Linked DNA regions of Homo sapiens: regions 2, 3, 4, 5, 6 and 7 are each linked to region 1. Evidence: promoter capture Hi-C in 16 types of primary human blood cells and fetal thymus (Javierre and others, 2016). All regions are on one chromosome and are shown on one strand. Each heading gives the region's core, a stretch centred on a gene start or on the middle of the fragment in contact. The rest is flanking DNA. Distances are from core to core; before and after follow the strand shown.

The links. The method cuts DNA at HindIII sites, captures the fragments that hold promoters and counts their contacts. A CHiCAGO score of 5 or more calls a contact.
Region 2: a contact is called between a fragment that was not itself captured here and the fragment with the promoter of EXT1 in region 1, in 1 of 17 cell types (naive B cells). The highest score is 6.3, in naive B cells.
Region 3: a fragment that was not itself captured here is called in contact with the fragment with the promoter of EXT1 in region 1 in 2 of 17 cell types (total B cells and naive CD8 T cells); the score reaches 7.9 in total B cells.
Region 4: a contact is called between a fragment that was not itself captured here and the fragment with the promoter of EXT1 in region 1, in 2 of 17 cell types (naive B cells and total B cells). The highest score is 5.3, in naive B cells.
Region 5: a contact is called between a fragment that was not itself captured here and the fragment with the promoter of EXT1 in region 1, in 6 of 17 cell types (total B cells, naive B cells, naive CD4 T cells and 3 more). The highest score is 15.1, in total B cells.
Region 6: a fragment that was not itself captured here is called in contact with the fragment with the promoter of EXT1 in region 1 in 4 of 17 cell types (total B cells, naive B cells, naive CD4 T cells and 1 more); the score reaches 10.2 in total B cells.
Region 7: a contact is called between a fragment that was not itself captured here and the fragment with the promoter of EXT1 in region 1, in 6 of 17 cell types (naive B cells, naive CD4 T cells, total B cells and 3 more). The highest score is 7.0, in naive B cells.

What each region holds. Positions count from the first base shown.
Region 1 is chr8:118,110,349-118,114,006 of GRCh38, reverse strand. EXT1 (exostosin glycosyltransferase 1) reads left to right here and starts at 2,181. Exons shown (of 11, transcript NM_000127.3): 1 at 2,181-3,658. The coding sequence starts at 2,961. RefSeq lists silencers at 1,759-2,138, 2,239-2,328. The HindIII fragment of the contact is 5,337 bases long and covers 1,388-3,658 here.
Region 2 is chr8:117,312,689-117,316,346 of GRCh38, reverse strand. All of the region lies in intron 4 of LOC105375716 (a long non-coding RNA gene), which reads left to right. Among named protein-coding and RNA genes, the nearest start is that of SLC30A8, 180 kb to the right of the region's middle. The HindIII fragment of the contact is 2,278 bases long and covers 497-2,774 here.
Region 3 is chr8:117,348,790-117,352,447 of GRCh38, reverse strand. All of the region lies in intron 4 of LOC105375716 (a long non-coding RNA gene), which reads left to right. Among named protein-coding and RNA genes, the nearest start is that of MED30, 170 kb to the left of the region's middle. The HindIII fragment of the contact is 4,045 bases long and covers 1-3,636 here.
Region 4 is chr8:117,369,369-117,373,026 of GRCh38, reverse strand. The region is part of intron 4 of LOC105375716 (a long non-coding RNA gene); the gene reads left to right. Among named protein-coding and RNA genes, the nearest start is that of MED30, 150 kb to the left of the region's middle. The HindIII fragment of the contact is 3,140 bases long and covers 128-3,267 here.
Region 5 is chr8:117,389,395-117,393,052 of GRCh38, reverse strand. The region is part of intron 4 of LOC105375716 (a long non-coding RNA gene); the gene reads left to right. Among named protein-coding and RNA genes, the nearest start is that of MED30, 130 kb to the left of the region's middle. The HindIII fragment of the contact is 795 bases long and covers 1,539-2,333 here.
Region 6 is chr8:117,407,185-117,410,842 of GRCh38, reverse strand. The region is part of intron 4 of LOC105375716 (a long non-coding RNA gene); the gene reads left to right. Among named protein-coding and RNA genes, the nearest start is that of MED30, 110 kb to the left of the region's middle. The HindIII fragment of the contact is 1,347 bases long and covers 1,434-2,780 here.
Region 7 is chr8:117,424,397-117,428,054 of GRCh38, reverse strand. The region is part of intron 4 of LOC105375716 (a long non-coding RNA gene); the gene reads left to right. Among named protein-coding and RNA genes, the nearest start is that of MED30, 94 kb to the left of the region's middle. The HindIII fragment of the contact is 6,383 bases long and covers 1-3,658 here.

The DNA.
Region 1 (3,658 bases), core at 932-3,431:
AACAACTGGCAAGATATAGAGGGGCCAGGCGAGGTGGCTCATGCTGTAATCCCAGCACTTTGGGAGGCCAAGGTGGGCAGATCACTTGAGGTCAGGAGTTCGAGACCAGCCTTGCCAATACAGCAAAACCCCATCTCTACCAAAAATAAACAAAAATTAGCCAGGGCTGGTGGTGCACACCTGTAATCCCAGCTACTCCGGAGGCTGAGGGAGGCAAATCACTTGAATCTGGGAGGCAGAGTTTCTAGTGAGCCGAGATCCTGCCACTGCACTCCAGCATATATATATATATATATATATATATATATATAGAGAGAGAGAGAGAGAGAGAGAGAGAGAGAGAGAGAGAGAGAGAGAGAGAGCACCTCCAGTCCCACAGCCCCACTTCACAGGGCTGAGATAATCTGCACCCTGATCAGAAGAGAAGGCCTCCTGCCTTGAACTGTTGTTCTTAGCAACTTGGGCTGGGGGGAGCTTTGGGTCACATGTGGTTTCAATCACTGCCTTTATCTGCATCATTGTCACTGTATTTGGAAGATGACTGAATCCTTATTCCTGTCCCAGGCCTCTCTACATTGTGCAGGGGGTTCAAGTCAAATCTGGAAAAGCTGTCTCATCTTTGGCAGGTCAGAAATAGGGAGAGGCTTCACGAATGTATAGTAATGTCCCACCCATGCCCCTTCCCTGCTTTATTAAAACAAATCTGAAACAACAGAGGTCTGAAACTTTCCACTCTATCATTTCATACTGCCTTGTTATAACCCTGCCCTTCATCCACACCCCGCTGGGGTTTTTGCAGCCTGAGGGAAGCCGGGAAGTGTCTGCTCCTAGCTCTCAGTCACTCCCATAATAAACAATCACTAAACAGCCGGCTGCCCTAGGCAACTGTCTAGCTTGCCCGAGCCCTGAGACTTTAGCTAGGCCAGAGGGTGGGAGGTGTTTTCTGTAAAGCAGTGTTCAGGATCTGAGGCCAGGGAGTTTGACTTTGACCAGAGATACTGTTTGGGAGCCTAGCACATCTTTGTGGACCTGGAGGATCTTTAGCGGGACTGCTCCTCGGTTACCTGAGTTATCTAATGAAGTTCTTCCACTGGGAGTGGCAGGAGCTTGGGCCAAGGAGTGGGAGGTCAGTGAGGGAAGGACCAACTATTTGGCACTAATTGTACATAAGGTAGTTTTCCTGATGCAAGTGTTCCTTCTATAGCTGGGACAGTTGGCAATTCTACCAGTCATATGTCCTTAAGAGATATCTTTAACACCACCACCACCACCACCACCACCAAGAGAATAACATCACTTTGAGGACTGGGGCAAGCTTAAATTAACTGGTTTCCCTGCAGCCATTAGAAAATTTATTTTTTCTCTGTGATTGGATCTCTTGGAAGCTTTCTTCATAATAGACAGAGGGGGCTCAGGCAAGGCGGCCTAAGTAGATAATGAGGATTTAGGATAGCCGTCTTACACTCTTAGCACAGAGGCAGGCATGAAGAATTGCAACAATTCCTCTTGATTGTAATAATTCCTCTTTATTGTTGGGCATTGGGGTGTTTCTTTGGTTTAAAAAAATGTGCTATGTAGAGGAGGAGTAAGGGGAGATTGTTTTAATGCTTAGCAGAAAATTGAAATACTGGGTCTCGGAGAGTGGAAGGAGGGCTGGGAGAGGCAGCTTTCGGATCGGCGGTCGCTTTCTATGAAGTCTTCCTTTCCTCCCTGCTTCCCTCCTTCAAAGCATCTTTCTCTAGGCGTTCCGGCAGGCAGCCCAGGAGGCCAGATTCTCCAGGGCGCCCGGGGCCGCGCGGCACGGGGCCCCTGCCGGTGCCTCCTTCCCCGGCCGCCGCGTTTCCGCAGGCGCCTCTGGTCCCCGGCACGGCGCAGGCCGAGATCCGGGCCTGGGCGCGCCGAGGGGCCGCGGGGCTCGCACCGGGCCGTCCCGCGCTCCACCTGCCCGGCAGCCCGCCGGCAGCTTGCAACCCGGGAGCCCCGGCTCCCTGCGCCCCCTACGCCCCCAACGCCGCGCCGGCGCCTCGGCCCGCGGCCGGGGGTTATGAATGGGCGCAGCGGAAGCACCGCCCCCCCCGGACGTGACGCTCGGCCAATGGCAGCGCGGGCTGCGTGGATGGATGAGGTCAGCGCTGTCGTGTCGGGAATGGAATGTGTAAGTGTAACATTCAGAACCGGGTAACATTCGGCGACCGAACGCGGCGGTCGGCAGCGTTCGCGCGGGGGCCTGCGAAGCGCTGCTCGGGGCCGGCACTGCCCGCGGGGAGGACGCGCCGCCGCCGCCACCCAGCGCCGCCGCCGCCGCCGCCTCCAGCCGGGCCGCCGCGCGTCCCGGGGGCCGGCCCCGCGAGCGCAGGAGTAAACACCGCCGGAGTCTTGGAGCCGCTGCAGAAGGGAATAAAGAGAGATGCAGGGATTTGTGAGGTTACGGCGCCCCAGCTGCAAGATGCACTAGCCGGCTGAACCCGGGATCGGCTGACTTGTTGGAACCGGAGTGCTCTGCACGGAGAGTGGTGGATGAGTTGAAGTTGCCTTCCCGGGGCTCATTTTCCACGCTGCCGAGAGGAATCCGAGAGGCAAGGCAATCACTTCGTCTTGCCATTGATTGGGTATCGGGAGCTTTTTTTTTCTCCCCTCTCTCTTTCTTTTCCTCCGTCTTGTTGCATGCAAGAAAATTACAGTCCGCTGCTCGCCCGCCCTGGGTGCGAGATATTCAGCCCCGCTCTCTCCCGTGCATTGTGCAACCCAAAGATGAAAGACCGAAGGGGAGAAAGTTAAAGAAATCGCCCACATGCGCTGGATCAGTCCACGGCTTGGGGAAAGGCATCCAGAGAAGGTGGGAGCGGAGAGTTTGAAGTCTTTACAGGCGGGAAGATGGCGGACTGGAGCTGAAAGTGTTGATTGGGAAACTTGGGTGATTCTTGTGTTTATTTACAATCCTCTTGACCCAGGCAGGACACATGCAGGCCAAAAAACGCTATTTCATCCTGCTCTCAGCTGGCTCTTGTCTCGCCCTTTTGTTTTATTTCGGAGGCTTGCAGTTTAGGGCATCGAGGAGCCACAGCCGGAGAGAAGAACACAGCGGTAGGAATGGCTTGCACCACCCCAGTCCGGATCATTTCTGGCCCCGCTTCCCGGACGCTCTGCGCCCCTTCGTTCCTTGGGATCAATTGGAAAACGAGGATTCCAGCGTGCACATTTCCCCCCGGCAGAAGCGAGATGCCAACTCCAGCATCTACAAAGGCAAGAAGTGCCGCATGGAGTCCTGCTTCGATTTCACCCTTTGCAAGAAAAACGGCTTCAAAGTCTACGTATACCCACAGCAAAAAGGGGAGAAAATCGCCGAAAGTTACCAAAACATTCTAGCGGCCATCGAGGGCTCCAGGTTCTACACCTCGGACCCCAGCCAGGCGTGCCTCTTTGTCCTGAGTCTGGATACTTTAGACAGAGACCAGTTGTCACCTCAGTATGTGCACAATTTGAGATCCAAAGTGCAGAGTCTCCACTTGTGGAACAATGGTAGGAATCATTTAATTTTTAATTTATATTCCGGCACTTGGCCTGACTACACCGAGGACGTGGGGTTTGACATCGGCCAGGCGATGCTGGCCAAAGCCAGCATCAGTACTGAAAACTTCCGACCCAACTTTGATGTTTC
Region 2 (3,658 bases), core at 386-2,885, 800 kb after region 1:
TTAATTGGTCCCCAAAGTGAAACCCAAGGAATGATTTATTGGTTGATGGTTTTGAGGCTTCCAACTTAGCAGAGCTGGGAAACATATGGGAAAGATAAACACGCTAGAAATTTGTGGCTATTTGTTAGAAAGTTAATTTTAGTTCATTCAGTTTATGATAATCGAAAAATCTCTTTAAATTTTATTTATTATTATTGAAGTTAATGATGCATCTACTTACCTGCAGGCATGAACACCTGCATCTTAGACCATGCTGTGGTTTTCTACCAGTCTTGAATCCTCCAAAGGTCCTAAACCTATTGACCCAAATAGCCAAAATGTCTATTCCCAACCATACAACTTCATTATTCAAGTGGGAAATATCTGGTGAGGCTGAGGAGCTCTGTAAGCACTGAGAGGCTGGCCATCAAAGACACATGAGAACTTCCAATACTGTATACCCACATTCATCAACAATTGTTGCCATAACACCACATAAAAATCAACTCCCAAAGCTTCCTGGGTTATAACAGCAAATGTTTATGGTTTACTCATGAGTATGCACATCGATTTCTTGCTCACAGGACTGCAGGCCAGCTGGTCCCAACTCTGTCTGCTTCAGGTTAAAAATCAGGTTCATGTCAGCTCCTTGTACCTTTCCTTCCAGAACCTAAGATCAAGATGCAGAATCATGGTCATGTTCATCCCATGGCAAAATGCAGAAACACAATAGGGCTAGAGAAAACTAGCTGTGATTTTTTTTTTTTTTTTTTTTTGAGGCGGAGTCTCACTCTGTCGCCCAGGCTGGAGTGCAATGGCACGATCTCAGCTCACTGCAAGCTCCGCCTCCCAGGTTCACGCCATTCTCCTGCCTCAGCCTCCCTAGTAGCTGGGACTACAGGTGCCCGCGACCACGCCCGGCTAATTTTTTTGTATTTTTTTAGTAGAGACGGGGTTTCACTGTGTTAGCCAGGATGGTCTGGATCTCCTGACTTCGTGATCCACCCGCCTCAGCCTCTCAAAGTGCTGGGATTACAGACGTGAGCCACCGCGCCCGGCCTAGCTGTGATTTTTAAAACCTCTTCTTGGAATTGGCGCATTACCACTTTTGTTCATATTCCTTTGGTCAAAACAAATCACATGTTCTCAAGTCAGTGGACCAGGAAAATATACTCTACCCCATGGGAGAGACAGAGAGAAAATATTTGCTAAAAAATAATCTAATAAAACACATCTTTATTTTTATTTTTACAGACTATGACCTTTGTTTATCTCTTCCATACAATTTAGGGCAATTGAGAGTGCAAATAGGAATATGCACATGAAGTAACTCATGGAGAGATAAATAGAATAAGGAAATATAAACTTTTTTTGTAAATTGTAAAATGTCATGTAATATTACAAATAGGAAACCATTTATGAAGCACCCATTATGAACTGTGGAAGGTGAAATGTTGAGAATAAATTATTCATACAAGTCTTTCTGACTACAAAGCCTGCTAGTCTACACTGTATAATGAATTAAAAATATAGTTTTTAATAATAAAAATCCTAGTGATGAGGGCCTTATAATTATCTCTTTTGTGCAAGACATTTTTTGGCAGTGTTCAGGGTAGGTTGAAGAGTTGGCTGAAGGAGAGAAATAAAGAGGAATAAAATCTGAGTTCTACTCTCTAGAAGCATAAGCCTAGTAGTAGAAATAAAATATGTTCATGAGGAACTATAACCCTTCCCTTCCTCTCTTCTTTCCTTCCTTTCATTCTTCTTTCCTTCCTTTCATTCTTCTTTCCTCTCCATATTGTGATGGGGCATAGTATAATGGTTAAGAACACATACTCTGGAGCAAGACTTCAAGGATTTAAACTCTTGCTCTATTAGTTGTTAGGTCTATATTTCTAGGAAGTCATTTAACCGCCATGTGCCTCAGTTTGTTCATTTGTAAAATGGAATAACATCATTTCAACAAAAATTGTTGTCCCACCACATCCCCTTAGCATTTACCTGTATGTCCTGAAGGCTGCTAACGATAAAACTCTTACGAATCTCTGCTGAAGAGCTTTTATTTTCTTTCTTTTTTTTCCTCTTGTCATAGAAGTACAGTCAGCCCATCCAGAGGACTCAGGAGGAGCACTCAACCAATAATAGGCACAGAGATAGTAGACAAATATCTCATCTTCCTCACCCCTAGTTTGATATAACGCTAAGGTTTATTCTGCCTATATTTTATTGTTTCTCAATGAGATTAAGCTCCAGTTACATATTATGATAACTCACTTGACAACCTGTATTTTATTATCTTTTTTTCTCCCCTATCGCACCCACTGCCTATCGTGTTTCCTGGGATAGCTACTCAAATAAACTATTGGCACATAAATTCTTATGTCAGGACTGCTTCTGGAGAATCTAAACTAAAACAATAGTTGTATCTATGTTGTATGGTTGTTGTGAAGATTAAACATATTAACATATGCCTGATGCTCTTAGACCACTGTCTGACATGACATTTAATTTGGTGTTATCTGTTATTACAACACTAGAATGAAAATTCCAAGAGGGCAGAGCTTATTTTTTTTTACATACTTTATTTAAACTGAAAATTTTTATTCTGTTTTTGGTAAAACAGGCTTTTTATGATTTACGAAAATTCTTATGAATTGCAAAAATGTTTTTTTCTTTCCATGTTTTTCCCTGTATGACCGTGTTTTTTCCTGTGTTCCCCCATTCAAGATTGGCTGCCACAATGAGATAGAAAGCACAAGGACTTTTTTAAAAACTTGCATCTGTAGTGGAAAGCTTAGCAGCAGACAGTAACTGCTCTAGGTCTGTCCACATAGATGCAGTTTTATTCACTTTTGAATTTTTAGCATCCATAGCAGTGCCTAATCCATAGCAAGTACTCATAAATATTTGATAATAAATTTAATTAAATACTTGAGGGCCTTCTAGGCTTTGGTGATATGAAAAAATATTGGAATGTGTACATGTCTTGGAGTAGCTTAAAATCTAGTCCTGAATAGTTATATAAGCAGAAAAATTACAAAAAAGATAAAAAGGTCTACAACAGAGGTGATAGAACAAGAACAAGTAAGTAACAGGTAAGTAAGAGGAGATATGATGAGAATGCAGAGGAAAAGATTAAATTTAGGTAGATACGTAGGCAGGAAAAGAAAAGCTTCCTGAGGGAACATTTGCACTGGGCCTTGAATGATGGATAGAAATTTACATAAAGATAAAAACTCATTTGCAGGTTTGGAGTTTTCTCTGTGCCATGCATGTTATATGACTTGCCTCAGAAATTTCTATTTAATGGGATCTAGTTGCAGCCTTTCTTGAGTACTTGTCAGTAGTTAATTTTTCAACCCAAATGATCAGTGACTTTAGGGACCAGCATCTCTGTGGCATTAGTGACAAAAAGAAATAGGATAAAAGGATCCTATGAGCCTTGAAACCAAAAATTGTCAATTTATTCCCAAAGAAGAAAATTGCATAGTAAAAATAAATCTAAGAACAACTGGAACAAAATTAAAGCAGGGCAAAAAAAAAAAAAAGAGCAATTAGGGTCATTGCACTGGTAAATGCAAATGTCCAACAATGATAGACTGGATTAAGAAAATGTGGCACATATACACCATGGAATACTATGCAGCCATAAAAAATGATGAGTTCATGCCCTTTGTAG
Region 3 (3,658 bases), core at 365-2,864, 760 kb after region 1:
TTAAAATTTCAATATATGTGAGATCACGCAAAGTTTGACTTTCAGTGTCTGTTTTATTTCATGTAGTATAATGTCTTTCAGGCTGTTTCCTTTTTTCTTGAAACACGGTCTTTCTGTCACTCAAGCTGGAGTGCAGCAGCATAATCATAACTTACTGCAGCCTCAAACTCCTGGGCTCAAGCAATCCTCTCCCCTCCGCCTCCCAAATAGCTGGGACTACAGGTACGTGCCACCATGCCTGGCTAATTTTTTAATTTTTGGTAGATACAGGGGTTGCGCTATGTTGCCAAGTCTTGTCTCAAGCAATCCTCCTGCCTTGGCCTCCAAACTAATCACAAGTAGAATGACAGGCATGAGCCACTACACCCAGCCCTTTCTCCAGCTTCTTTCTTAAGGTTGAATAATAATCCATTGTGTGTGTCTGTATATATATATATACACAAACAATTATATTGTAAATAATGCGGTAATGAACATGGGAGTGCAAATACCTCTTCAACATACTTGTTTCACTTCCTTTAGATGTATACACAGAAGTGAGATTGTTATATGGTAGTTCTATTTTTCACATTTTGGGATACTTTTATACTGTTTTCCATGGTGTCTGTACCATTTTACATTCCCACAAACCGTGTACAAGGGTTCTTATTTCTCTACAATCCCACCGACACTTGTCTTTTGCTTTTCTGATAAAGCCATCCCAGCAGGTGTGAAGCGATATCTCCCTGTGGTTTTGATTTGCATTTCCCTGTTGAGTGGTGATGTGAACCTTTTCATATACCTGTTGGCATTTTCTTTGGAAAAATGTCTATTCATATCCTTTGCCCATTTTTAAATCAGGTTATTTGTTTTTCCACTTTTGAGTTGTATGGCCTACTTGTTTACTTTTGCTTTTGTTACCTGTGCTTTTGGTGTCATATCCAAAAAATCATTGCCAAGAACAATATCAAGGAGCTCTTTTTCTATGTGCTTTCTTCTTTTAGGAGTTTTATGGTTTTATGTCTTGCATTTAAGTATTTAATCCATTCATAGATGATTTTTGAGTCTGGTGTAAGATAAGGGTCCAATTTTGTTCTTTTGCATGTGGCTATTCAGTTTTCCCACCACCATTTAATAAGAACTATCCTTTTCCTGCTTTGTATTCATGGCCTCTTTGCCAAGATATCCATGGGCTTATTTCTGGGCTCTCGATTCTGTTCCATTGGTTTATGTGTCTGTTTATATGCCAATACCATACTATTTTAATTTTTATAGTTTTGTAATATAAATTGAAATCAGGAAGTATGGTGCTTTCAGCTCTCATCTTCTTGCTCAAGATTTCTTTTGTTATTCAGGGTCTTTAGAGGTACCATGCAAATTTTAGAATTTTTTTCTATTTCTGTGAAAAATGCTATTGGAATTTTGATGAGGATTGCATTGAAACTAGAGATTGCTTTAAGTAGCATGAACATTTTAATAATAATTATTTCAATCCATGAACAAGGAGTATTTTTTCATTGATTTGTGTCTTCTTTTTTTTTTAGATTTTATTTTATTTATTTATTTATTTTTTAAATTTTATTATTATACTTTAAGTTCTAGGGTACATGTGCACAATGTGCAGGTTTGTTACATATGTATGCATGTGCCATGTTGCTGTGCTGCAGCCATTAGCTCATCATTTAGCATTAGGTATATCTCCTAATGCTATCCCTCCCCCCTCCCCCCACCCCACAACAGTCCCCGGTGTGTGATGTTCCCCTTCCTGTGTCCATGTGTTCTCATTGTTCAATTCCCACCTATGAGTGAGAACATGCGGTGTTTGGTTTTTTGTCCTTGCAATAGTTTGCTGAGAATGATCGTTTCCAGTTTCATCCATGTCCCTACAAAGGACAAGAACTCATCCTTTTTTATGGCTGCATAGTATTCCATGGTGTATATGTGCCACATTTTCTTAATCCAGTCTATCGTTGTTGGACATTTAGGTTGATTCCAAGTCTTTGCTATTGTGAATAGTGCTGCTATAAACATACATGTGCATGTGTCTTTATAGCAGCATGATTTATAATCCTTTGGGTATATACCCAGTAATGGGATGGCTGGAATATAGACTAATGGAACAGAACAGAGCCCTCAGAAATAATGCTGCATGTCTACAACTATCTGATCTTTGACAAACCTGACAAAAGCAAGCAATGGGAAAAGGATTCCCTATTTAATAAATGATGCTGGGAAAACTGGCTAGCCATATGTAGAAAGCTGAAACTGGATCCCTTCCTTACACCTTATACAAAAACTAATTCAAGATGGATTAAAGACTTAAATGTTAGACCTAAAACCATAAGAACTCTAGAAGAAAACCTAGGCAATACCATTCAGGACATAGGCATGGGCAAGGACTTCATGTCTAAAACACCAAAAGCAATGGCAACAAAAGCCAAAATTGACAAATGGGATGTAATTAAACTAAAGAGCTTCTGCACAGCAAAAGAAACTACCATCAGAGTGAACAGGCAACCTACAGAGTGGGAGAAAATTTTTGCAATCTACTCATCTGACAAAGGGCTAACATCCAGAATCTACAATGAACTCAAACAAATTTACAAGAAAAAAACAAACAATCCCATCAACAAGTGGGTGAAGGATATGAACAGACACTTCTCAAAAGAAGACATTTATGCAGCCAAAAGACACATGAAAAAATGCTCATCATCACTGGCCATCAGAGAAATGCAAATCAAAACCACAATGAGATACCATCTCACACCAGTTAGAATGGCGATCATTAAAAAGTCAGGAAACAGCAGGTGTTGGAGAGGATGTGGAGAAAGAGGAACACTTTTACACTGTTGGTGGGACTGTAAACTAGTTCAACCATTGTAGAAGTCAGTGTGGTGATTCCTCAGGGATCTAGAACTAGAAATACCATTTGATTTGTGTCTTCTGTCATGGCTTTTGTCAATGTTTAATTGTTTTCAGTGTACAAATCTTTCATCTCCTTGGTTAATTTATTCTTACATACTTTTGATGCTATTGTAAATGACATTGTTTTCTTTTTTTTTCAGATGGTTTATTGTTAGTGTACAGAAATGAGACTGATTTTTGTATGTTGATTTTTTATCTAGAAACCTCACTGAATTTACTAGTTCTAACAGTATTATTTTGGTTGAGTCTTTAGGGTTTTCTATATATAATATTATGCCATCTGCAAACAGACAATTTATCTACTACTTTTTTTTTTTGAGACAAGTTCTTGTTTTGTCACCCAGGCTGGAGTGCAGTGGTGCCATCTCAGCTCACTGCAACCTCAGCCTCCCAGGTTCACGTGATTCTCCTGCCTCAGCCTCCCAGGTAGCTGGGATTACAGGCATGCCACCAGGCCCAGCTAATTTTTGTACTTTTAGTAGAGATGGGGTTTCACCATGTTGGCCAAGTTGGTCACGAACTCCTAACCTCAAGTGATCCACCCAACTTGGCCTCCCAAAGTGTGGAATTACCGGCATAAGCCATCGCACCCAGCTTACCTTCCACTTTTATTATTTGAATGTCTTTTTTTTTTCCTTTTCTAATTTTTCTGGCTAGGACTTCTAGTCTTACGTTGAGCAGGAGTGATGAGATGGACATCCTTCACTTGTTCCTTATCTGAGAAGAAAAGCTTTCAGCTTTTCATCATTGAGTA
Region 4 (3,658 bases), core at 448-2,947, 740 kb after region 1:
ATTGCTGACGTCAATGGAAGGATATAGACTAGTTTAGACATTATCAACAAGGTACGCACCTTGTGCTGAAGATTGTCAACATGCTGCTAATAGACACGTTAACCTTTGAGATACAGTTTTCTAAGCTTTTGGTCTATCAGTGGATAGTATTTACTGTATAAAGGGAAGCCTACATATGACTATATGGCTTCATCTTTTAGAGTGATAACATAGCAACAGCTTTGTTAGTTTGCAGGAACCAGAAACAGATTGAATTCTTGGCACGCTGTAAGAAAGAGGTTTCACAAACTCTGCTGGTTATGGTACTCCCTGTGTTGTAAATGTTACTGGAGACAGACCCTGTGACTGAGGCTTTCCCCTCTGTGAACAACATATCACTGAGCAACAACTATCTTCTCACAGGTCTGACAGAGACAGAAAAACATGCCAAGGTGAAGACACTAAGAAAGAGGGTCACTAAACACTGCCAAATTGCTTTCTTCTCAAAATGGAACACTTAGCACAAGCAATAAAAAAATTAGCAAACATGCATGTCACCAGTTTGCTCTTATTATTGAAAATGAGGAAATGTATAAGAAGGCTGTCCACAAAAATCAAATGTCTATTTCATTGCTTGCCTAGATATTAGCAGAGGTGAAAATGGATACACAGATTCCAGATAGAGGTCAGGTCAGTCCTGAACAACATTGAAAGATGAACTAAGGTGGTTTGATTTCCCTGTAAGTGACCTCATTGATAATTAGGGATGCCTATGCCATGCTCACTCAGAGGCTACCCCTTTCCAGTAATATTGTATATGTACCTATCATCAGTCATTCACTTATTATCCAAGAATTCACTATCTATCTTTTCCAGGTATAGAGGATTTAGTATTATATATGTTGTCAGTGTCAGAAAGTGAATGCAAACTCTTTTCTCATAGATATTTATGACTTTTGTAACTTGGAGGGCAAAGGAGTGAAATTGGCTTTAAGCAAAAGGGAATTCTAAAGTTAAATTATGCCACCAAGATCCTCTCTTCCATTCTGTTTCTCTCAGGTCATCTTACTCCTTACAGGTTTTCATTTCAGGAAACCTCTCTCTACATGTCGCGAAGGAGACTCATGGCAGTTTCTGGCTTACGTGGGCCATTCAAATTTTAATAACATAAGGTGATAAACTGTCTCCAAATGGCCAAATCCCTTAAACAGGGAAATATGAGTCTGTGTGATGGAGATACTATCTCAGAAGCAGTAGCAGGAGTTTCCAAAAGGAATTCATTAAACAGAAAAAAAAAAAAAAAGACTATATATTTTCACAACTTTAAAAGAAGACTCTTCTTTATGCACAACAAGAATGTAGTCGGACAGGAAAAATAAAGCATAAATAGCTATTATATAATCAAATATAGTGTTGTGATAGAAATATTTTCAACGAACTAGAGGCAATTCTGTATCTGGTATGGCAGAGTAAGCCCCATCATGGTCTACATTCCTATGAATGGCAATTCTAAACTCTGAACAAAACATAAAAATATTTGTAGAAACTAGGGAGTGAACAAAATAAGACAGACTGTAAATAAGTGCCAAAACTTGCCAGAAGGAAAAAGAATGAGGTGCATTTTTTCATTATTGCAGGTATTAGTCTGAAAGTAGGCTAAAGCCTAAAACTCCAACAGAAAAGAGACAGACTTTCTGAACTAAAGAACCAGAGAACAGAGTTCAGGGAAATTACCTTTGCTGAAAACTGAGGTAGGTAAGGATTCAGAAAAAAAAAAAAAAGAACAAGAGAGTGAGCCCCACATTTTGGAAATAAATTCTGCCCAAATTTCTAGATAACCAAGGAACCACACATACGTGGGCAGAATCAAAGCAGTCCAGCTAGAGATAAGGGCACTGAATTGAGATCTGAGCTGTTCCCAAAAAGATTTTTTTGTAACTTGAATTCAACCAAGTTAACTGTCTACTAAAAGAAAGAGCCCATTCTTTGGAAGAATATAACAGAATCTATAATATCGCCTTTCGGGATATAATAAGAAGTTACTCGACATTTGAAGAACTAGGAAAATGTGATCCACTCTCAAGAGAATAAACAATCTACTAAGACCAACTGTAATTAGATTATATGGGTTTTAAAGCAGCTATGTATGATGATGTAAAAGAAATATTTTTTGGGTGGACTTAAAAACTGAATGGAAATGGCAAAGGAAAAGAGTCTGGAGATAAGAGAGCCTCATAAAACTGTAAGACAATGTCTAAAATCTAATGTGTATATAATTGTAATTGCTGAGGATAAAAGATATACAATGGAACAGAAGAAATTGAGATCACAAAAGCACAAGGAACAAACACACAAAAAATAAGACTTCATCAAAATTAAAAACTCTTGTGCATCAAAGGACCTTATAAAGATAGTGAAAAGGCAACCAATAGAATGGGAGAAATATTTGCAAATAATATATCTATTAAAGGTCTAATATCCAGAATATATAAGGTATTCTTACAACTCAACAACAAAAAGACCATAATTCAATTTAAAATGGTCAAGATACTTGAAAGATATTTCTCTAAAAAGGTATTCAAATGGCCAAGAAGCACATGAAAAATAATGCTTGGTATCATTAGTTATAAGAGAAATACAAATTAAAACTACAAAAAGATACAATTTCACATTCACTAAGATGGCTATTTAAAAGAAAACAAAAAAAAATGTGTTGGTGAGGATGTGGAAAAATTGGGACCTTATATATTGCTGGAGGGAACATCAAATGGTGCAGCCACTGAGGAAAAGAATTAAAAAGAGGTATTTAAACAGATATTTGCACATGAATGCTTGCATATGAATGCTCACAGAAGCATTAGTCACAATAGCCAAAAGGTGAAAACAAGTCAAATGTCCACCAGTGGATGAATGAGCAAGCAAACTGTGATATAGACATATAATGGAATATTTTTTGGCAAAAAGAACTAAGTACTGACACATACTATTAAATACAACATGGACTAACCTTGGAAACATTATGCTAAGCAAAAGAAGACAAGCATGAAAGGTCATATATTATACAATTTTATTTATATAAAATATCTGAAATAGATAAACCCATAGAGACAGAAAGCATACTGGTGGTTGTCAGGGGTTGGATGGAGAAAGGGTGGAGAGTGGTTACTTAATGGGTACAGGCTCTTCTTTGGGGTAATGAAAACATTTTTGAGCTAGAGACCACAGTTGCACAACCTTGTGAATGTATTAGATACCACCAATTGTGTATTTTAAACTATACAATAAGCTTTAAAATAATTGTATATTTTTTAAAATAGTTAATTTTTGTTGTATATATAATGCCTTGATAAAATTTTGAAGAATGGATGGTGTACATTTTTTTCAAATTTGGCCATAGACATAAATATGGTAACTAAAGGAGGTTAGTGAGCCCTTGGCAGAATAATTATAAAGAAAACTATGCCTAAGAACATTATACTCAAAGTGCTAAAAACATGAAATGGTGGAAACTTGAAAAACAAATAAATAAAACAAAGTGTTAAAAACAAAAATGAAAGGAAAATCTAAAAAACAGCTATAGAAAAACAACATATAATGTATAGGGAAACAATAATTCAAAAGACTTCTGAATACTCATCAGAAACTAGCGAGGCCATAAGACAGAAGATAAACGTCTTTA
Region 5 (3,658 bases), core at 687-3,186, 720 kb after region 1:
ATCATTGCCATTTTTCCTTGCCATGATTTTGTCGGTTCCTTTCTCCTGGGAACCTGTCCTCCCTTCCAGTCTATAGGATCTGGATTTGTAACTTCATTTGGACAAGAAACTGGCATGGAATCATGACTTTTATATTTGGAATTGGGGGCTGGGAACTTCCCCCTGATCTGCCTTGTGATTATCTGCCACTGAATTCTTTGGCTTGCACACATTGAGCAGTTCCCTAATTGGCTACTCTTCTATTTTGCCCCTAGGAATACCATCTCATAACCCTCTCCATTCTCAGCTCTTCTTGGCTGCTGCTCCAATCTTACCACTTGTTACAATAGCTTCATCCTTAAGGCTGCTGACGAAGCTCACACATTGCTATTTAGTCTTTTGTTTTGAAGTTTTATCATTCTCATTATTATTAGAGAGCTATAGTTTGGGAATGGCATCTTCTGTTGTCAGCCCTAGACTAACAAGCATTAATGAACATCGCAATGACACCGATGTCCCTCTCACCAGCTCCTTCCTTAGCCCTTTGACAAATAGTGGATCCTCTGGCCTCAGTGATGGAATATCACTATCTGGTGAGTTTTCTCACTTTATGTAGTATATCCACTCTGTAGTATATCCACTCTAACATGTCCACTTCTTTGATTCTTTTAATTGTTTCTTCTACTATCTGCCACAAAAATTCTGGAATTTATTTCTCACCACATGGGGGCCATTGCTTTTTTCATACTTCTAGTGGCCATCCTTACAGTGTGTTTGCACCCTCTTCCGAGGGCTTTTTGCCAGGCTGTTAAATACTCCCATACTGATAAATTCCTCTTATCCAGGTTTTTTTCTTTTGCCCTTGGCAGAACATTTTTTGTAATCAGTCTCATGTGTGCTCTTCCAGCTCCTTCTGGTAAATGTTGACTAGGTCATGCAGCTGTGCAGTCACCGTCCACCTTTTTCCAGGCTGAACACACTCCTGGCTGGGTTAGACTATGACTTAACTCTAGGTTTGGACTTAAAAGCAAAGAAATGAGATAATGAAAGATCATGAGTGGGTGCTGATTGTTTAAAGGAGAGACACCTATATCAGGAAGAGGCTGCCCTCCTCTGTTGGAATGGTGAAGTGGTTTCTCTAATCAATTGTTCTCTTTTTGTGGGGGAGGAGTTGTGTGCATTCTGTTTAATGTGATTTTCTCACTCCCTTACCCAAGAGTTGAGGGAATGTACTGATGCTTAGTAGGAGGAGTAGGCTACTTTCTTAGTCTCAAAGGATTCAATGGAATTAGGGCATTCAAGATTTTCAGGTCCATCAACTCAGATTTTGCCATCTCATGTGTCATGATAGAGATTAACCTTCTTTGGAACGCAGTTACTCTTATTATTAAATCTTAAAACCAATCCTTAGGTTTCACTACCTTTCTGTTGCAAGTGATTAGGAAGTTTTTGTTATGCTACCAAGGAGGCTTTCTGCCTTTCACATTTAGATTTTATTTGGTGATTATTGATTATGATTTGATGATGATGTTATCTTTCCCCAGGGCATCCATCAAGCTTAGCAATAGTTTAGCAATAGGTCACCCAATTCCACTCTCCTTAGAGCTTCTATTTCCTTAATTTTTTCCCAATGGCTGATACCTTGCAGCAATTAGTGCATTCCCATTAAACAATACACCATCCCAGATTGCCCCAGTGAAAGTGTTTCACTGCTACTTTATGCTTGATTAACCATCAGTAATGGGGTTCTCATTGCCGGCCAGCTAGCTGGTAAGTGATCCAGCTCCAAAATTCAATTTTAGCATCTGCAAGACCACTTCTGGTCAACCATCACTGGTTACATTCTCTAGGAAGTAAACTATGAGATGCAGATTAGCATGCTAGGTGTATATTAGTAGATACTCTTTGATGAACACCTGTAGAAGGAAGGTAAAGGAAGTGGGATAAGGAAGAAAGTGAAATTGTGCAGTGATGCAAACACAATAAAGGCCTCAGCGAAACCCGTAGAAATCTCTGAAGCTAAGATGGCCTCTCAGAGTTATCCTGAGTTAGAGTAAAAAGGGGAGCTGGGCTTTTATACTTTTCTCTCAATCAGTGAAGGAGGACTTGGGTGGTATTTCACAGCATCTATCGGTCAATGTCTATTATTTTCTTTGTTTTACTTTTTCTTACATCTTTTTGTACTTAGAAGTACTTTTATTTGTGTTCTAGTAGTTATCTATACACTAGCAGGTGAAAAATGTTCTTCATTCTCCTTTTACTTAGTTGGTGTTTGACTATTTGGTTTCTGAGCTTTAACTTACATACTTTGACTCTCACCTTCCTTTTTCATTTCTCTGCCTTTAAAAAAAGCTTCCTCAGTTATTTCTACTTTGGACAAATTTGTCCTCTAGTAGATTTTCTTGTAAAGGGCACATGTACAGTATCCCTAGATTCTTGCATATCTTAAAAATGTGTTTATATAACCTTGACACTTGAAGGACAGCTTAGCTGGATATGAAATCCTTGGCTCGCACTTTCTTTGAGTTTTTTGAAAAGGTTTCTCCACTGTTATCTGTCTTTGCATGTTGCAGTAGGGAAATCTTATGCCAATTTGATTTCCTTTATAAATAATGTGGGGCTTTTTTTGTTGTTTTGCTTTGCAGACCATGAGGACAATTTTCACTACATATTATACACCATAGGTCCTTTTAATTTATGCAAATAGGTCTTTTATTTCTGAAAAAAAAATTGGATTGTGATCTAAAATGTTGTTCTATTGTGTTGTTTTTTTGTTTTTGGTCCCCCAGAGACTCCAATTATATGTATATTGCATCTGCTTTGCCTATGCCAAATACTTTCCCTTGATCCTTTTAAATTATTTCCTTTTTGTTATTTTTATTCTCTGCCCTGTTTTTATTTTCTTGACTATTCAATTGTCCCTACTAAATTTCAATCCAATGTTTTCTCATTCAGGCAATTTGTAATGTCTTCACTTCTAGGATGAATTTGATTTTTTCTACTATTTCTTTCCTGTGTTCAGTCATTTTACATCTTCCTAATTTTTGTTCATATTTGCTATGAGTTTTACCTTTCTGATTTGAGATACTTATTTTACATATACAAATTCTTGTTTTCAGATATTTAATTCAGATGGAGCTCTTATGTTGCAGTTTTGTTCTACTTCATGGTTGACATTTTGGGGAGTATTTTTAACAGCTGGTACATTTTAATTCTTAATTTGTTTCTTTTTTGTCTAACTTTGTATGGATATTATCTACTTTTCATACTTATTTTGAATGTCTAATTTTCTGGACCAGCAATAGCAGTTGTATGCACACAAAAGTGAAAGTTTTGACAGGCTTATCAAGCTCCCTAGTTCAAGACTACCCTCTTCATTTAGTACGGTGAAGTGCAGCTTCTCTAATTAATTTAGCTATTTTTGTGTGTGGAAAATTTTTGTGTATTCCGTTTTGTGATTCCCTCTCACTTTCTCTCTCTCTTAGTTCAAGACTACCCTCTTCCTTTAGTGTGGTGAAGTGTAGTTTCTCTAATTAATTTAGCTATTTTTGTGTGTGGAAAATTTTTGTGTATTCTGTTTTGTGATTCTCTCTCACTTTCTGTCTCTCTCTCTCTCTCACACACACACACCCACACACACACACACACACACGTGCACACACACCAGAAATCTCAATTT
Region 6 (3,658 bases), core at 858-3,357, 700 kb after region 1:
CAAACCTAGGTGAAAGTCTGATTCTGCTTTTGTCCATACACACTGAGTGCCAAATGTGTGTATTTCCAAGCCGTGTCAAATTAGATGTGGGAGGATTTTCATTCCAGAATGCTTACTTTATGTTTCAGCTTCCCTCCCTAACCCTGCCCCAAGGCTTCTGGTTTCTGAAATAAAATATCTAATTGCTTTTTAGAAGTTTTACCTTTCATTTTATAAAACCTCACAGCTTAAAAAAATGTGTCTAAATTTTACTTTGAAATGAAGTGGAACACCCTTTGATTATTTTCTAAAAATTTTCCCTTGGCCAAACTCTCTATAATCCTAGAGTTACTCCTTGATCATACATCAACCATATCTCAAAGGTGTCTATAAGAGATTCCTTATGGCTAGATAAAAATAAGGGGATATTATGAGGGGAGAGATTATAAGAGGACTACATCATTAGAAATGTAATTGTCACCCTTTAAAATCATCTTTATGGTGCTGTTTAGAGGTTAACTAAAGGACATAAATTAACAAACCTGTACAACATGAAAATTACTGATGGAATATATTGGGGTTTTAGGCAACCTAATAGAGTATATTATCGTGTTTCTTGCCTGAGTTCTGATTTCACTGAGAAAGACAAAAATTTAAGCAGACAAACATAAAGATTCCTACTTCATTATTGATGGAATTACTGGAAATTGAGGCTTAGGCCCTGTGAGAAAACAATGGGCTTCCTAATATGTAGCCACATTAATACAGACTTATTCACTCAATGTCAAGTAGCACTGGTCAACCACTGATTTTCCACAACAAAAGGACAAGGTTGCTACTGTGAAGCTCTTTGTATGACCAAGAACAAAGTAGAGTATATTTTCCTAAAATCACATAGATCCAAAGAAGAAAGGCAAAGGGAAGGGACTCAGTCAAACATGACCAGTTTTTGTTCCTAAATTTGCTATTCAGATACTTTAATCCTCCTCCCATTAGGAAAAATTAGTGAGGATGCAGAGGAAGCCAAGAATGTTACTCTAATAGAAACATTAAGAGTAAAGAAGGTCCCATTTAATAATGTATAGTCCTAATAAAACAATAGAAAGGGTATGTTTAACATTTGCATTGGCATTCCTGCCTCTGCTCTCTCCATCCAAAACGCATGTAGATAACCTACAATCAGGCATTTATCTTCTATATAAAGTTGAAGGTCGTTCTCTGAACAAACTGCACCTATTGTCAGGATATATTAAATCCAGGTGTCACAAGGTAAACTTTTACAGGCACAGTAATGTAGACTACTTGTAGTTTAGATTACTTATATTTAGATCTCAAATTTCAGCAGTACAATCCTAGCTTGCAGTCTATACACAATATATTTTACTTCATCAGGGAACCATGGTGGAATCACAGAACTTTAGCAAAATCTGGCTTCAGGGCTCAGAGTGCAAGCTTTCAGCAGGGTTCTTCAAAAAGATACATGTGCTTAGTGGGTGAGGAGCGCACAACTTTCTCAGCTGTCAGATTATATCATACTCTCCCTGTCTGATCAGGCAGTAATGAACAATGGCACCAAGGAGTCTGGTTTCTGCTTTTTATCAGGAAACAGCTTTTCCTGCTTTGGCATCAAAACCATATCAACAAAAGCCCAAACCAGAACACACAGCTCAGTGGAAGATGGATACGCCCATGTTTTCAAGGTAATACCAGCATTTTACCTGGCTGAACCACCTCTGGCACAATTCACATATTAAATATAAGCCTTTCACTATGGAAGACGTTCACTCTATAGTAGCATGGAAATCTATCCTCCAAGGATTGCATGCCATTTGTTTCAGACAATATTCTTTTGTGGTACTTAATACACAAGGTAAAAGTGAGGGAAGACACACAGGAAAGAGGACATGAACAAATTTAGTAAGTTTAAAATATTAGCAAAGCTAATGTGTCAAGTTTAACTGAAAATCACAAGTAGCATGTCTGAGAGCAATGAGAAATCCTGAAGAAATACAATGATCAGAGAAGAAACTATTCTTCCTCAAGCTAGTTTTATTGCTCATTCAGATGGAGTGTATATAGAAAATAACACACAATTACACATGACAGGTCAGTCATTATGAGAGCACTGGTATACATCTCAATGCCATTGTTTTCTATTCTGTTTGATACAGAACATATATTTCCTATATATTAACTCACTATTTGGTTGAGTAAATAAAATTTTCATTCTCTTAATTAGGTAAAAATTATTCTGATATAGTAGTATCTTGAGCATATTGTAGCTTCTTAGTAGGTAACTTTCCAAATCTTGACTGCCAGAAATACTATAATCTTCTTCAGCTTCCCAATTGCATTTCCTGGAAACAAGTGAGATAACAGATTTATATCATCTAATGCCTGGTATATACTATGCCCTCCATAAACAAGAGCAGCCAGGCCCCATTTGTGAATCAATGCTCATCTCAGATCCTGAGACACTCCTGATGAGAGCAAGAAGTATGCTGGAAGCCTCACCCTCTCTACCCCCATCCAGTGGCCCTTGGAACTAAGTCTCATGTCTCAGACCCCAAGTCCAGTGTCTGAGCTATGATTGATGGGATGCCACATGCCCTCTGAGCTACCTTAATGCCAACCTGGCTCAGGACCCCATGTACCAGGAATGAGCATCTGTGGAGCCCTAAACAACAGCCTTTTTCCTTCCACTTATATATGGGTCCCAGCCAAGGGTAAGAACTTCTTTGTTTTTATTTTGACCTTCATAGTTTCTGCTTAATGTCCCTGATTAGACACCAAGTCAAGCTTAGGGTATTGCCGTGAATGCCTGGCTCTTACAAGGTTTCTGTTCCAAAGCTGAATTCTGCTCCCCTATATTTCTACCCAATTGTGAGAAATCCACATGGACAAACCTAGTGTCTATTGCTCTTTGCCTCTTCCAGATATCATTCACCACTGGGATCTTCATCCCTGTGTGCCACAGTTCAGATAGACACTGGCAATTGCCTGAATCACCTCAGGTCTTGAGGCTTTTTGGAGTTTCTGTGTCCGAGATGCCCCCGCTCGTGTCCTCCTACATTATGGTGACACTGATGCTACTGAAATGTTTTCTCACCTCTCTACAAAAGATGTCTTAGTGTCCCAACTTGCATCTTACCTCACCTTTTCTATGACAACACTGATTTTCCAGACTAGGCTGCAAATGGACTGATCTCTAAGTACAAACTATGGGATTAGAGTAGAAAGAAAGAGGGTCATGAGCTGCATCACTCAAAGATGTTTGTAAGTTGAATCCCAGTCCCTCAAACCCAAACCAGCTGAGGAAGTGATTTTTCTTTTGTTTTTGGTTCTCAAGAATTGCAACCCCTTCAATATTTTATTCATTAGATTTATTTTCCTTATTTTTTTTCTGAGCTCAGAACTTCTGTGCAAGATAGAATAAGAAAACTGCAAAACCCCTTCAGGGCACAAATCAGGAATTGTTTCATTTGCTTTTTTTTTATTTTTATGAAGTCCAGGATATAGGTCTTGATGAAGCCACATCAGCTCTTTTTCTCTTTTCTGTTTTTCTTTTAAACAGAACAAACTGCCAGCAGGATTCCTGTTTCTGAGGGTAGGAATTGCTTGTACGCATTTCCCATAAGGATTCTAACAGGAGGTTTCTCTCTGCTAAGGCAAAGGGCTC
Region 7 (3,658 bases), core at 702-3,201, 690 kb after region 1:
GATCATTCTTGGGTGTTTCTTGGAGAGGGGGATGTGGCAGGGTCATAGGATAATAGTGGAGAGAAGGTCACCAGATAAACACATGAACAAAGGTCTCTGGTTTTCCTAGGCAGAGGACCCTGCGGCCTTCCGCAGTGTTTGTGTCCCTGGGTACTTGAGATTAGGGAGTGGTGATGACTCTTAATGAGCATGCTGCCTTCAAGCATCTGTTTAACAAAGCACATCTTGCACCGCCCTTAATGCATTTAACCCTGAGTTGACATAGCACATGTTTCAGAGAGCACGGGGTTGGGGATAAGGTTATAGATTAACAGCATCCCAAGGCAGAAGAATTTTTCTTAGTACAGAACAAAATGGAGTCTCCTATGTCTACTTCTTTCTACACAGACACAGTAACAATCTGATCTCTCTTTCTTTTCCCCACATTTCCCCCTTTTCTTTTTGACAAAATGGCCATCGTCATCATGGCCTGTTCTCGATAGTCACTGTCTCTTCGGAGCTGTTGGGTACACCTGCAGAAAGGCTGTCACTTCACACTTGGAAGATTGCACAGTAGCCAGGCAGAGGCGCTCCTCACTTCCCAGACAGGGTGGCAGCCGGGCAGAGGCACTCCTCACTTCCCAGATGGGGCGGCCGGGCCGAGGCGCTCCTCACCTCCCAGACAGGGTGGCTGGGCAGAGACGCTCCTCACCTCCCAGACGGGGCGGCCGGGCAGAGGCGCTCCTCGCTTCCTAGACGGGGCGGCCGGGCAGAGGTGCTCCTTGCTTCCTAGACGGGGCAGCCGGGCAGAGGCGCTCCTCACTTCCCAGACGAAGGGCGGCTGGGCAGAGGTGCTCCTCACCTCCCAGACGGGGTGGCGGCCGGGCAGAGGCGCTCCTCACCTCCCAGACGGGGCGGCCGGGCAGAGGCGCTCCTCGCCTCCCAGACGGGGCGGCCGGGCAGAGGCGCTCCTCGCTTCCCAGACGGGGCGGCTGGGCAGAGGCGCTCCTCACTTCCTAAATGGGGCAGCCAGGCAGAGACGCTCCTCACATCCCAGATGGGGTGGTGGCTGGGCAGAGGCACTCCTCACTTCCCAGATGGGGTGGTGGCCGGGCAGAGGCGCTCCTCACTTCCTAGATGGGGTGGCGGCCAGGCAGAGACGCTCCTCACCTCCCAGACGGGGTGGCAGCCGGGCAGAGGTGCTCCTCACCTCCCAGACGGGGTGGCCGGGCAGAGGCGCTCCTCACTTCCCAGTCAGGGTGGCCAGGCATAAGCACTCCTCACATCCCAGAGGGGGCAGCCAGGCAGAGGTGCTCCTCACATCCCAGATGATGGGTGGCTGGGCAGAGATGCTCCTCACTTCCTAGAAGGGGTGGTGGCCGGGCATAAGTGCTCCTCACTTCCCAGACAGGGCGGCCGGGCAGAGGGGCTCCTCACATCCCAGATGATGGGCGGCTAGGCAGAGATGCTGCTCACTTCCTAGATGGGGTGGCGGCCGGGCAGAGGCTGTAATCTTAGCACTTTGGGAGGCCAAGGCAGGCGGCTGGGAGGTGGAGGTTGTAGCGAGCTGAGATCACGCCACTGCACTCCAGCCTGGGCAACATTGAGCATTGAGTAAGTGAGACTCCGTCTGCAATCCCAGCACCTCGGGATGCCGAGGCGGGCAGATCACTGGAGGTCAGAAGCTGGAGACCAGCCCAGTCAACACGGCGAAAACCCATCTCCACCAAAAATACAAAAACCAGTCAGGCATGGCGGCGCCTGCCTGCAATCCCAGGCACTCGACAGGAGAATCACGGGAGCCCGAGGCAGGGACGTTGCAGCGAGCTGAGATCACGGCAGTACAGTCCAGCCTTGGCAACAGAGGGAGACCAAAGAAGGGAGAGGGAGAGGGAGAGGTTGAGGGTGTCTTGACTTTTTATAGTCGCCATTCTGACTGATGTGAGATGGTATCTCATTGTGGTTTTGATTTGCATTTCTCTAATGATTAGTGGTGTTGAGCTGTTTTTCATATGTTTCTTGGCCACATAAATGTCTTCTTTTAAAAATGTTTTTTCATATCCTTTGCCCACTTTTTAATGGGGTTGTTTGTTTTTTCTTGTAAATTTGTTTAAGTTTCTTGTAGATTCTGGATATTAGACCTTTGTCAGATGGATTGATTGCAAAAATTTTTACCCATTCTATAGATTGTCTGATTACTTTGATGATAGTTTCTTTTGCTGTGCAGAAGCTCCTTAGTTTAGTTAGATCCCATTTGTCAATTTTTGCTTTTGTTGCAATTGCTTTTGATGTTTTCATCATGAAATCTTTGCCCATGCCTATGTGCTGAATGGTATTGCCTAAATTTTCTTTCAGGGTTTGTATAGTTTTGTGTTTTACATTTAAGTCTTTAATCCATCTTGAGTTAATTTTTGTATAAGGTGTAAGGAAGTGGTCCAGTTTCAGTTTTCTGCATATGGCTAGCCAGTTTTCCAAGCACTATTTATTAAATAGGGAATCCTTTCCCGTGCTTGTTTTTGTCAGGTTTGTCGAAGACCAGATGGTTGTAGATGTGCGGTCTTATTTCTGGGGTCTCTATTCTGTTCCATTGGTCTATGTGTCTATTTTTGTATCAGTACCACGCTGTTTTGGTTATGGTAGCCTTGTAGTATGGCTTGAAGTCAGGTAGCATGATGCCTCCAGCTTTGTTCTTTTTGCTTAGGATTGTCTTGGCTATACAGAGTCCTTTTTTCTTCTATATGAATTTTAAAGTAGTTTTTTTCCAATTTTGTGAAGAATGTTGATATGGTTTGGCTCTGTCCCAACCCAAATCTCATCTTGAATTGTAACTCTCATAATTCCCACATGCTGTGGGAGGAATCTGGTGTGAGGTGATTGCATTATGGGGACAGGTCTTTCCTGCACAGTTCTTGTGATAGTGAATAAGTCTCATGAGATCTGATGGTTTTAAAAATGGGAGTTTCCCTGCACAAGCTCTCCTTTTGTCTGCCACCATATGAGACATGCCTTTCACCTTCCATCATGATTGTGAGGCCTCCCCAGCCACATGGACTGTGAGTCCAATAAATCTCTTTCTTTTGTAAATTGCCCAGCCTTGGGTATGTCTTTTTTAGCAGCATGAAAACAAACAAATACAGTAAATTGATACTAGTAGAGTGGGACATAGCTGAAAAGATACACAAAAATGTGGAAGCAACTTTGGAATTGAGTAACAGGAAGAGATCGCAACAGTTTGGAAGCCTCAGAGGAAGACAGGAAAATATGGGAATGTTTGGAACTCCCTAGGGACTTGTTGAATGGCTTTCACCAAAATGCTGATAACGATATGAAGAATAAAAATACAGGCTGAAGTGGTCTCAGATGGAAATGAAGAACTTGTTGGGAACTGGAGCAAAGATGGCTCTTGTTATGTTTTAGCAAAGAGACTAGCAGCATTTTTCCCTGCCCTAGAGATTTATGGAACCTTGAACTTGAGAGAGATGATTTGGGGTATCTGGTAGAAGAAATTTCTAAGCAGTTAAGCATTCATGAGGTGACTTGGGTGCTGTTAAAGGCATTTAGTTTTATAATGGAAGCAGAGCATAAAAGTTCAGAAAATTTGCAGCCTGACAATGCGATAGAAAAGACAATCCCATTTTGTGAGGAGAAATTCAAACCAGCTGCAGAAATTTGCATAAGT